Linked DNA regions of Homo sapiens: region 1 is linked to region 2. The links are contacts of gene promoters, found by promoter capture Hi-C in blood cells and fetal thymus (Javierre and others, 2016). All regions are on one chromosome and are shown on one strand. The core of a region is centred on a gene start or on the middle of the fragment in contact, and the rest is flanking DNA. Distances in the headings are between cores, read along the strand shown.

Region 1 (5,841 bases), core at 989-3,488, 110 kb before region 2:
CTTTGTTGTGGTGGCTCTCCTGTCCACTGTAATACTTTTAGCAGCTTCCCTGGCCTCTATCCATAGATGCCAGTCGCAACTCTGCAGTTGCGACAATCAAAAATGTCTCCAGACACTGCCAAATGTCCAAAAAATCACTCCTGGTTGAGAGCTGCTAGACTATCTGACCATCGCAGTACTCAGAGGAGTAAAAACAGTAATAAGCATGAACACTCTGGAACAACCACCTGGGCTCCTACCTCTGATCCTATCCTACCCCAGTCTGCTCTCTGCTCTGGGGCAGGAGAACTAAGTGGAGATCCGATTATGCCACATGCCTGCCTAAACCTCTAAGACCTCCTGTAGTTGGCCCTTGGAGTGCAAGCTTGCATGTCACAGGTTGACACAAAGAAACCAAGTTATCTGTTCCTCCTTCTGCATCCTCATCACTTGCGCTCCTCCACAAGGCTCCACCCTCCAGTCCTATGACACTTTTCATTCACCTGACAGCTACTTCCAGGACTCCAGCACACACTAGGCACGTCCTAAGTGGGTGGGAGGCATCAGTGAACAAAGATCCCTACCTTTGTGGAAACAGACAATAGCCAAGAACATAACACAGAAATTATACTGTATGTTACAAGGTGAAAGGTAAACCCGGGAGAAGGGGATTTGGAATACTTGGAGTGGTAGAGGCAGAATGAGTTGCAATTCTAGAAGAGATCATCAGCATAGGCTTTATTTGAGCAAAGGTTTGAAGGAGAGGAGGGAAGTAGTCATGCAGATTCTAGGCAAGAGTGTCACAGGCAGAGGGAGAAGCAGCGAGGGGAAGGAGCAGCCAGGGCGAAGCAGCGCAATGCGGAGGGTGGTGGCTGCCATAAGGACTTTGACTGTGGGTAAGATGAATCATTGCAGGGTTTTGAGGAAAGCAATTATGTGATCTGGCTCACATAAAGTTCAAATAATCCCTCTAGCTGCTGTGCAGAGGATGGTGGTCGAAGCAGGAATGCAACTTACAAAGCAACTGCAATATTCTATGTAAAAGATGGTGGTGGCCTGACCAGAGAAGGTTCAGTGGAGATAGTGACAAGTCTAAGCAGGGCATCTCATGTCCTGGAACTTTGGCCTCTAATTCTTGCTCAGTGATTCACCTAATGCAGGTTCTTTCTGGATGCGGAGTTTATAGTCCATTAGACACAGCAACAACTCAATAAATATGTGTTGGTAGTTAAAACCCACAGAACTCCCCCGACCTCCACTCACACCTAAAATATAATCTTGACTGAAGTATACTTTTCAGGACTTCCTATTCAGTTCCTAGGCACGTATCTGGCACTTGGATGTTTAATAAATGTTTACTGAGTGGACAAATAAGTAAATAATACATCTTATACTGTGTGAATAATTACTGTATTCCTTTAGACAGAATCATTTATAACCATTAACCCAAAGTGTTTTATTATCCTAGAAGTAATTCATTTTGGTTGATGGACTTTAAGAATTTTGGCTTTTCTTGCCACCACTATAAGTTACTCAAGCTTCATTATTTTACCCAGATCATAAATGTGTTTTAAAAGTGATCAGACTCAGCATGCACTGTTGTGAAGTTTGGTGTGAGGTATGAGTGAGTGACTTCAGTTTACAATTAGCTTGATGCTAATGACCCTGGGCCTCATTGTACCATCCATGAAGTGAGGGAGTTCTCCCCATGCCCCGCCACCGCCGCCTTACATCCAGGGTGTCTCCCAGCCTGAAAATTCCAGAATTTTATATTCACTAAGATGTATATTGGAGGACAACCACCCCATACAGCTGAAATCCTTTGGTGCCAGATGCATTTTGGAATTCAGAAAAATGTGGATTTTGGACTTGTAATATATCCAGCAGAAACTGAGGCAGCATCTTGAAATTAAATATTTCTATAACAAAATATATAAAGACACCCAGTAGCCTCATATCAGGTCAAGTTTTGCTGCCGAATTAGTTATTTAGAAAATCTTCTGGTATTCTGAACCTTTTGGCTTTGAGAATTGCAGATGAAGGATCCTGGGTGAATTAGGTTGTTGGTTTATATCATCTTGTGTTGTTGTTGCTACAGAAACTTGTTTGAACACCCAGTCAGCAAAAATGCAATAACTCACAAAAGATGCACAAGTCACCGGTGCAAATAAAACTCTACAATTCCCTTTCACTGAGGGATGGCCCTCCTCATCATGTGAGTGACATTTTCTTTGACTAACCCTTGGGGAGAAGGGAGGGAGCCCTGAGAATCAGATCTGACACTAACCAATTCTTGATGTGAATGTGACCCATCTCCAATCATTCACGCTTAACCTAAAGTGGGGTTAATTGTTTTTACTGTAAGTCAAGTGTCCTAATTAGCTCAAGCTACTACAAAGATGTAAAAGAATTAATAATGTCACTTTATTACAAAGCCATATCATTTTTTTCTGAGCTTAGTATCCATCTTAGTTCATTTTAAAACTTCTTTCTTGATGGCTAACAGTTAATAGTTATTAGAAGATGCAAATGTATGCCAATCTTGCAAAGATTTCCATTAAACAACTTGGAAATTGTCAGATTCATTTTGTAAATCTTATAGATGTCTACAGGAGGAGCAACAGAAGTCTTTACAGGTGGCACACTAAGTGTGATCTTTATAAATACCCTCAGATTCCTAAACACTAGTAAGCAGCAATTTCTTAATTTTTGCTAATACTTTTAAATTTATAGAACATAGAAAAGTACCCATACCATGTCATGGGAACTGGGCCGTGGCCATGATTAATTCTCTTGCTAAATTTGTTTAGAAAACTATTTGGCTGTTTGAGTAAGATGAGAAATCGCTACATTTCCATTGAAATGAATTCGAGTGTCGCTGTTTCACAAATAGCAAAAATACAGAAGAAAGCTCATTTATATCAAGATAGTTCTTATAAAAATAAAACTGTCATGTCCAAACTGAGAACAAGGAAGCTTCATGTCCAAACTGAGGGCAAGGAAGTCTAACACTGCTCTGCCTGAATCTGTTCCTTTCGAATATACTTGGTTTGTTTGAGGCAAAGAGAGGTGGAGCAGAAGGCCAAGCCTTCTTTGAGGGAAGGGATGAGGGGTTGGCGGGGGGGTGGGGAGGACAGGACACCTGACCATCTTCTGTCCACTCTGCTTTCTTTTGCTCTTTTCCCACCCTCTTTCCTTCCCTTTTATTTGCTCAGCTCTTTGCTAATGTTGAAACAACCAAGGGTATGGTATTGCCTGGCTGAAGGGGGAGCTACGCCAGAAAGCTATTTACATCTTGATTACTTTTATCTCCTCAAATCCTATGTATTTTAATTCCTACACTTGTGTTGGGTCTTCTACCTCACTTTGGATTTGGGGCACACCTCCACTTGCCTTGGAGAGGCTGCCCCATCACAGGATGGCCCAGGCAGCCAGCCTCCAAGACCACAGGAGGGCCGGTTCTGAGAGTCTCTCCCTGTTCGGAGCTATGGAAGGTGGCTCTGGAACTCAACATCCTCCTTCCTTGCTTCAGTGCAATAATGGCACCAAGGCCTGGCTGAGCGCAACAGAGCACCTTAGAGAGGGATTCAGAGCAAGTTTCCCCACATGACCCTGTCCATGCAGGCTCAAGAACTCCCTAAGTTGGAAGCAATGGGTGGGCCAGACTTTAGTTGTTACCAGTAATTCAAACCAGGAGCCTTTCTTCTTTTGATGCTACATGTACATTGTTTTTTCACTGAGGACTGGAATGAAGGCATCTCTTTTGATGCTTGATGATACACAGTGGCCTTTTGTGACAATGTTGCCCAAGCCAGGGGGAGAGGATAATTTTAGGTGGGTGCTCCAAGGGCAAAAATTAAACCCCAGCATATTAAACTCATGTCACAAATATTAGTTTAAAGCAAAGTTTTAAAAAGATATATTAATCAGTTTAAAGTAAAATACTAAGCAATTAAGAGTACTGGTCGTCAGCAGCAATTCTAAAATTAACATCATCCACAGCATCCACACTGTGGGGCTGCATGCTAAGCAGTGCCATCTCCACTCTCCCAGGAGCTCCATCCCAGCCCCTGTGCCCTCTCCGACTCCCTGGGACTCAAACTGGAACATGATCTATACCATCCTTTAAAAGCACAATCTGTTTCTCCCTACAAAATGCAGGCTACCGCCTTATCAGTAAGCCATCTAAGATGCACACCAATCCCTGGTCAACGCCAAGCCCAGGCACCACAGGGCAGGCACATCCTATGAGGTGCAGGCTTGTTTCGGGTTCCCAGTGTCCACCGTGTACCAGCCAGATGTGCTTTGATCTTGGTAAGGATGGGGCGGGAATCTGAGACTGATGTATAACGGAGGGCGTCGCTGACTGTCCTAACTCTGTAGATGGGAGTTGGCTGTGGGGCTGATGTGATCAGTACCACACCTGGTTACACAGATCCTCATTCAGAACTGGTCCCTGAACTCTCCCAGGAGAGCCAGGCTCAAGGACTCAGTATTGGGCAGAAAAGTATAGCAGCGTAAACCAATGGCTTCTTAGCTGATCCCCATGCTTTAAAATTTATGCCTTAATTATGTGATACAATTTTTGGATTAGTTAAATGGAGTAACTGCCAAAAAGAGTCATGAATCCTGGTTGGTACTCCCCAACGTTTAGGCAGTTTATGGTCACTAATCCCATCTGGCAAGTTGACTCTGCTCTCTAAGTACATGTTTTGGTTTCTGGTTTACCTTGAAAGATATACCAAGAAGTTTCATGGTTCAGGACCAAACATTTTTGGCTACTGTACTTAAAAAAAATTGCTCTTACGGGTACTTGCAAGCTTATATCTGTTTGGCATGTTTTTTCCGGATCAAGTTTCCCTGGCCCACACTCTATGGCAGAGAACTTAAGGCCTTCGATCTCCTTGTCCCTACATTGAGGTAGACACCAAATTCCACAACTTCCTATGCCAAACTCTGTGCCTAGTATTCAGAAACGTATGCACACCAGCATCCTGAGCCTCCGTGAGAAGACAAGAGTCCAATCCTGGATTAGTTGACTTAGATGCACATTTTTGTATTTCACAGATACATAAAGCAGCTGGCATCCAGGTATAAACAGGAAGTACAATATCCAGCTCATTTCCCTGTTGCTCAACTGTTGGCAAAGTTTTGCTGCAAACAACACTATTTAAGGATGGCCTGAAGGATATGCCGTCTAGGCTGTTTTCTCCCAGTCCTTTGAAATCTACCTAAGGCCGGCAGAGAGCACCGCGCACTGCCACATGATCTGGCCTATGGAACAACCTCTGTGGCAGCATCGCCATCAGGTCACACAGCGGGGGCTTCATGAGGAACAGCCCAGGAGAAACAACTCGTTTCAGGCCTGTTGAGGACTTTGAGCCCTATGTCACAGGGTCTTCTCTAAAAGATGCTCAGGAAATTTCTCCCTCATCTCGGCACTGAAAAAGATTCCCCTTCACAACAACGATGGGTAAGTTTTCATCCTGTGGACCCCCATGGCTCACAGTACCATGTACCCCTCCCTTGGCGCAGGGTCTGTGGCCCACCTGTGGGGAGTGAACAGAACCTCCCAACCTGTGCTTAGCGTATTAACAGTGCTATGACTTCCTCTTGTCTTACCTATTTACATTTTCCACTTTAATCTTTCTCGGCTGTAAATTCTTTGTCTGCCAAAAGGTAACAGGCCTACCATGAGAATTTTAAAAGATGTATTGTATTCTGATATATACACTCTATATATGGTGAGAATAGCTAACAGTTTGAGTGCTAAGTGCGCTTTGCAAGTATATTTAGTCCTCATCCTGAGCATTTTCTAAGTATATTTAATCCTCATACAACTATGGGAGGCTGGTGCTAGTA
Region 2 (6,031 bases), core at 1,199-3,698:
CCATACCTTGTTTGCTCACATAAAAGCTGACAAGGGCTGGAGGAAAATGTGTCTGGTCCAAAGATGAGAGGATAGGGCCAAGAATCACAATATAACCCCTTTCCATTTAATCGGGAGGGCCCCTAAAACGGCCATTCATCCAAATGAGCTCTCCTGTCAGTCAGTCTTGGGCCATCCGCTAGCAGATGTTGGTCATTGTGTGGGCTGGCTGGTAGGATTTTGTGATCCAGCAGCTGCCAGCCTTTAATAACCTCAATGATGCTGTGGAAGCATCCATTTAGTGTATAAATATGCTTTGGGCATTAAAACACTGCCAAGTGAAATATTAGAGAACAAACTCCCCACCCACTGCAGAAATTTCCCAGGTCCAAAGCATCTGAGATGAAGATTCCAAATTACCAGTAGTAAAATTTCTTTTAGATCTTTTTTAATCCTCTTGCTTACTGAGAAACCCACTGAGGAGCCTCCCAAAGATGATGCCCACACTTCAGGTTATTGGTCCTACCGTGCACCTGGTTAGGGAAGGAAGAAGTGTTTCATAGTTACCCAGGCTCCTTCCACTTGTAGCAGGAAAGAACAGCAAGAAAGCATCAGAACACTCAACTCCTTGGAGATTTAAAAGCCAGAATTCCGGAGGGATACAGCGAAAAGACATCTCTCCCTCCTCACCTACACTCCCCACACTGTTTCTGCCCTGGCCCTAGAATCAGCAGCCCTTCAGTAATTCCATGCGGCTCCAGAGAGAATCCTCTATTCCACGGGGCTCCCGGATCCGACCCCAGGTCAACCGCTTCCCACCTTCCCAGCCTCCACACGCAACCCCTCCCCGCCGCCCCTGGCCACCCCCTTACCTGATAATGTCGTCGTTGTGTCCCAGGAAGAATTTTTGGCTGTGCTCGCGGGTGTTGTAAACCACCCCGACCCCAGCCACAAAGTAGACCACCTCCTTGCCTGCCGTGTAGTACAGGTTGTTGCGGCACTGGTGACCCCGGTACCCGTACACCCACTCCAGCCGGAGCTGGCAGCGGGGCGCCGTCCGATCCGCCATGATAAGCCGACCCCGCGCGCCCCCCGCCCCCCCGCGCGCCGGGGCCGTCCTCGCCGAGGCTGGGGCTGCGGCGGACCTGCAGGGGCTCAGCGCGCGGCGCAGGGCGCTGATTTCCGCGGCGACACACAGGCACAGCCCAGCGGGCCGGCCGCCACCATCATCCGCTGCAGCCGCCGCAGACAAGCCGCCGCCGCCGGTGTGCGGCCGCCAGACCCCGCCGGGCGCCGGGCTCCCTCTACCCGGGCAAGGCGGCTCTGGGGGCGCCGGCACCGGCGCGCGCGCCTCACTGCACCTGCGGGCTCCGGCCCCCGGGAGAGGCTCTCGGGGGGGCCACCCCGCCTTTTACATCAGGAATCTGCATATCCCAACAGCGATCACCCAGTTCGCTCACTGAAGTTTGCGGTGCGCCGGGGCTTCGCGGCAGGCGGCGGGATTTATTCTGCGATAGCCTTGATTTGACAGGCAACCCGGGTGAGCTCTGCCATCGCCGTCTTTGGATCCGAAATTGACAGTCTATATCCAGGAAGCGAGAGCGAGGAAGAAAGAAACAGATTTTTCGCATAAGTCACCCAATCCAAGAAAATTATCCCCAAACTAAACCAAGTTGGGTATTTTTAAAAATTGTCCCCTACTCCCGCTTTCTCTCTCCAGTTCCATCTCCTTAATGATATGAAATATGCGTAAATGCTGCTGCCTGGCAGTTGCTGATGCGATTTGAAGGAACGCTTGCTGTTTCCCTAATAAGCGAGGGCGAATATGCAATGGTCATTTTTTAGATGCTCCAATTAGTTTTCATGTGTGTGTTTAATAATCATATCCTCCGTGAACCTTCTCTTCACCGAGAAAGCCATAAAGAACTTAGCAGCTCTCATTGATCAGCAACTCCAATCCGCATCATGAAAGATTGTCTTACTCGGAAGAAACGAGGCACTAGTGCAGTCGGAGGGAGTGCGCTACCTACAAACGCTCCTGGTCGAGGAGAAATCAAATAACAAGTGGCAAAAATCGTGTACTTCTCCCCAGAAACCTCTGCGCTAAACACCGGGTCCCACGGAATCCCGGGTCCTGCCCTGAGCCCAGCGTGGAGAGGGGTCGCCCGAGGGACCCGGGGGACAGCAACCCCCCACAGACGCACACGTCCCGGGGGTCGGCGCGCTGCGCGAGGGATGCCCGCCCTCAGGACTGTTCGGCCCGCGCGCACTGCCGCCCTGGCGGCGCCCTGCACTCCTCCCACTCTCGAACCAGCCTCGCCCGCGGAGCATCCGCGCGCTCTCTGCCTCTAACCTCTGCTGCCAGCGGACGCCACCGGCGCGTCCCGGATCCCGCGCGGGCGAGCGAGCGAAATCCTCTGCCTGCCCTCCCCTCCCCGCCTCCCGCACCCGGGGATGGACTTCGTCACTGGGGCGCCGCGGGAGACAGGTTCTTCCTCCAGCCGGGGCTCCGGGGGCGGGGCCACAACGCCGCGCTAGTGAACCTCAGCTGCCGGTTACTAGGCGAGATCTCGCCGCTTGGAAACAGCGACGCCCCGGAGGACTGGGGCCGCCCCCTCCCTCTGCCTGTCCCTGTGGCCTCTTCCCCCGACGCATCCTGGGAAGTGTAGTCCTCTCTGCGCCGGTTAGGGCGGACAGCGCGCGGAAGGGACCACAAGTCCCAGGATTCCGCGCGCCCAGAGGGAGTCGCAGCGAGACCTGTACCGGCGTCAGCGGAGCCTGCGGCTCTCGGGGTGAGGAGATCCCGGCTCACCAAGGACGATTGCCTGCCCACGCGGGCGTTCCCTTGTGACTGAGGCGGGAGCTGGCGTGCGTGGGTCTCTGTAGAGAAAAGCGGTGGAGTTGGAATGGAGACGGTCTCCCAGCCCACCACTGGAATTTCTCCTTCATCGGTCTCTGAGTGTTGCTGTAACCGACATCCTCACCATGCTGTAACTGACTCAAGCTTAAGTTTGTTTCCTACTTAAGTTTTCCTTTTCATTCACATGGATTTTAATTTGTTAAAGTGCAGTTCTGCCAAGTTTAAGAAAAATGCTGGGAATGTGAGCTCACTTCTGCCCTAAGAACCAGCGTCTTCCCATGACCTGCGTCCTAAATTAGAGGACTTGGGTATTTACAGATAACCGGAGGTTGGAAGCAGGAAGGTGCTCACGCCATGAACAGCTAACCTTGGCCTTCAAACGCAGAAGCTGGTGGCATTTCTCCTAAAACTGCCCGAGATGAACTATGAATCCACTGTGTTCTCAAGTAGCCTATTTCCAATTTAGGGCCATAGCTAGTCTTTGGAAAGAGATTTCAAAATCCCAGTGACTAAGAGGCTGCAAAAGGATGATGGATTGGACGTTTGGAACGTCCTTTCCCTCCCATGCTTTCAGTGTAATCGCTTACTCAGTTCATCTCCCTCAAGTTTTAAGACAACCCTCCGACCTGGTAGGAAAGCTCGAAAGAACTGGAAGTGCCAGAGTTTGGATGATTTGTTGCTGCCCGCAGTAATGAGGATTTGAATTGGTCTCATCTTTGTTTTTAAGGAAACAGAATCAACAAATAAGTGAGATGGCACTGTGCTAGGCAACAAGAACACTGCCAAAAACAAAAACACGGCCTGAGAAAGGTTTGAGATAGAAGCAAAAATATAGTTGATCAATGATGTCGTGCCATAAAACAGTGCCAAATGAATTATATAAAGACAGTAAGTTTTTGTTGTTCTTTTTGTTTTGTTTTGTTTTGAGACAAAACAGGCCGTTGCCCAGGCTAGAATATCGTGATCTTGGCTCACTGCAACCTCCGCCTCCTGGGTTCAAACGATTATCCTGCCTCAGCCTCCTGTGTAGCTGGGATTACAGATACGCACCACCACGCCCAGCTAATTTTTGTATTTTTAGTAGAGACAGGGTTTCGCCCTGTTGGCCAGGCTGGTCTCCAACTCCCGACCTCAGGTGTTCTGCCCGCCTCGGCTTCCCAAATTGCTGGGATTACAGGCATGAGCCACTGTGCCTGGCCAGTAAGTTCTATATAAGAATTCAGAAGAGGAAGAGTTTTTCCAGATAAAATACATCAGGAAAAGTTTCATGGAGGAACTAGGAAATATAGATAGAATTGAGATAAGTAAAGATAAATTGAAAGAGCGTTCTACATGCGTTTAGGGAATAAACAAAAGTGTAGATGCAGAAAAGTGGATTTAGAGAACACTAAAGAGAATACCCAGTTTGGTGCAAGGGAGAATTCATATAAGATCAAGAGGACACATGAAAGGTTAGATTGTAGATGGAGCTCAGCATAGGGGTTTGCGCTGTATCCTTAAAATAATGGAGTCATTGATTTTTTGAATAAAAATAAGGGAATAGCAATGAAAGCAGTAATCAAAGCATGAGGTATTAGAAGTCTGGGGTAGTGCTTGAGGCTGCGTTAGAGATAGTGGCAGTGGTCTAGAAAGGAAGAGACACTTTCCAGAGAAAATGTACAAATGTATTGAAAAGAAGTCTCTTAAATAGAAATGGATGGAACATATTCATTTCCTAAATTATCTTTAGTATAACTAATGACCCCCATGCTGTACCAGACTGTTAAATGAGTTGGAGGAGTAAGTCTGAGTCAGCCACTTACAATTGTAACCTTAGGCAAATCACTAAATCCTCTGATCTTTACTCTCCTCATTTAATAAAGTATAGCAGTACTCACCCCACAGGATAATTGTAAGAATGAAACAAAGTAATACATACGTGAAAAGTTAATTTGTAAAGCATTAGATAAATGTTAATTATTACTATATGGCAGTAGATAGTAACCTCTACTTGAAAGTGTCAAATAAGACTGGTAGTGTCCTTTGGAAATAAGCAGTATTAAAAAGCATGAGTAAAACTCATAATATAATAACATTATGTTGTTGTAATGAATAGCAGTTACTATGTTCCAGGCACTATAAATGGTGCTTTACGTGTATCAGATAATTTGATCTTCACCCCAGTAATAATCCTATGAAGTAGTTACTGTTATTTCCTCATTTTACAGATGAAGAAATGAAGGTAAGGAAAGTTTAAGTAACTTGCCCAGGAATGCACAAAATAGTGACAAAGCCTGGATTTGAACTCAGGCAGTCTGACTCCAGACGCTGCTCTTAAATGCTAAGAATGATGAAAGAAATTGTTTAGATGGTAGAGTAAGTTCACCTGTAAATGAAACCCAAAATAGCCATGATTTAAACTTGATAGAATTTTATTTCTCACAAAAACCTGGAGGTAGTACAGGCCTAGAATGATGGCTCTGCTTAAAGGAATCCTTGAGTACTCAGGCTACTGGCAGCATGCCAGCATTCTGCTCTGCTGTCCCTAGACCTCATGGTCCAAGATGTAGTACTAGCCATCAAACGTACATTTCAAGTACATTTCAAAGAAGAGAAGGGTCATGGGGCACATCCTGGCTGCCTTTAAAAGGAAGATGCTCAAAAGCTACCCTAGGCCAGGCACAGTGCCTCACACCTGTAATCCCAACACTTTGGGAGGCCAAGGCGGGAGGACTGCTTGAGCCCAGGAGTACTAGACCAGGCTGGGCTTTGGTGACACTCCTTCTCTACAAAAACTACAAAAATAGCTGGGTGTAGTGGCACAGGCCTGTAGTCCCAGCTACTCAGGAGGCTGAGGTGGAAGGAATTGCTTAAGCCCAGGAGATTGAGGCTGCAGTGAGCTGTTACCACGCCATTAGACTATAGCCTGGGCAACAGAGTGAGATCTCAAAATAAAAAAGAAAAAGCTACCCCAAGTCTTTTCTGTTTATATGCTATTGGTCTGAACTTAGTTATGTAGGCATACCTAGCTGCAAGGAGATTTAGGAACTAGTTTTTATTCTGGGCAACCATGTACCTAACTAAAAATAGAGGATTCTTAAACTGTGGGAAAAAAATAAATGGCACTTTACATCCCTTATCTCTCTAAATCCTTACAACAACCCTATGAGTAGATAACTTCATTTTAATGTGAGGAAACTGAGACCCAGAAAA

Evidence for each region. Contacts are between HindIII fragments. The CHiCAGO score rates a contact against its expected background, and 5 or more counts as called.
Region 1: a fragment that was not itself captured here is called in contact with the fragment with the promoter of EML6 in region 2 in 1 of 17 cell types (endothelial precursors); the score reaches 5.8 in endothelial precursors.

The regions. Positions count from the first base shown.
Region 1 is chr2:54,830,006-54,835,846 of GRCh38, reverse strand. All of the region lies in intron 7 of EML6 (EMAP like 6), which reads right to left. Among named protein-coding and RNA genes, the nearest start is that of EML6-AS1, 82 kb to the right of the region's middle. The HindIII fragment of the contact is 1,438 bases long and covers 1,520-2,957 here.
Region 2 is chr2:54,720,079-54,726,109 of GRCh38, reverse strand. EML6 (EMAP like 6) reads right to left here and starts at 2,448. Exons shown (of 42, transcript NM_001039753.4): 1 at 2,333-2,448; 2 at 852-1,561. The coding sequence starts at 1,048. RefSeq lists silencers at 1,245-1,394, 2,066-2,555 and an enhancer at 2,696-2,915. The HindIII fragment of the contact is 5,681 bases long and covers 1-2,985 here.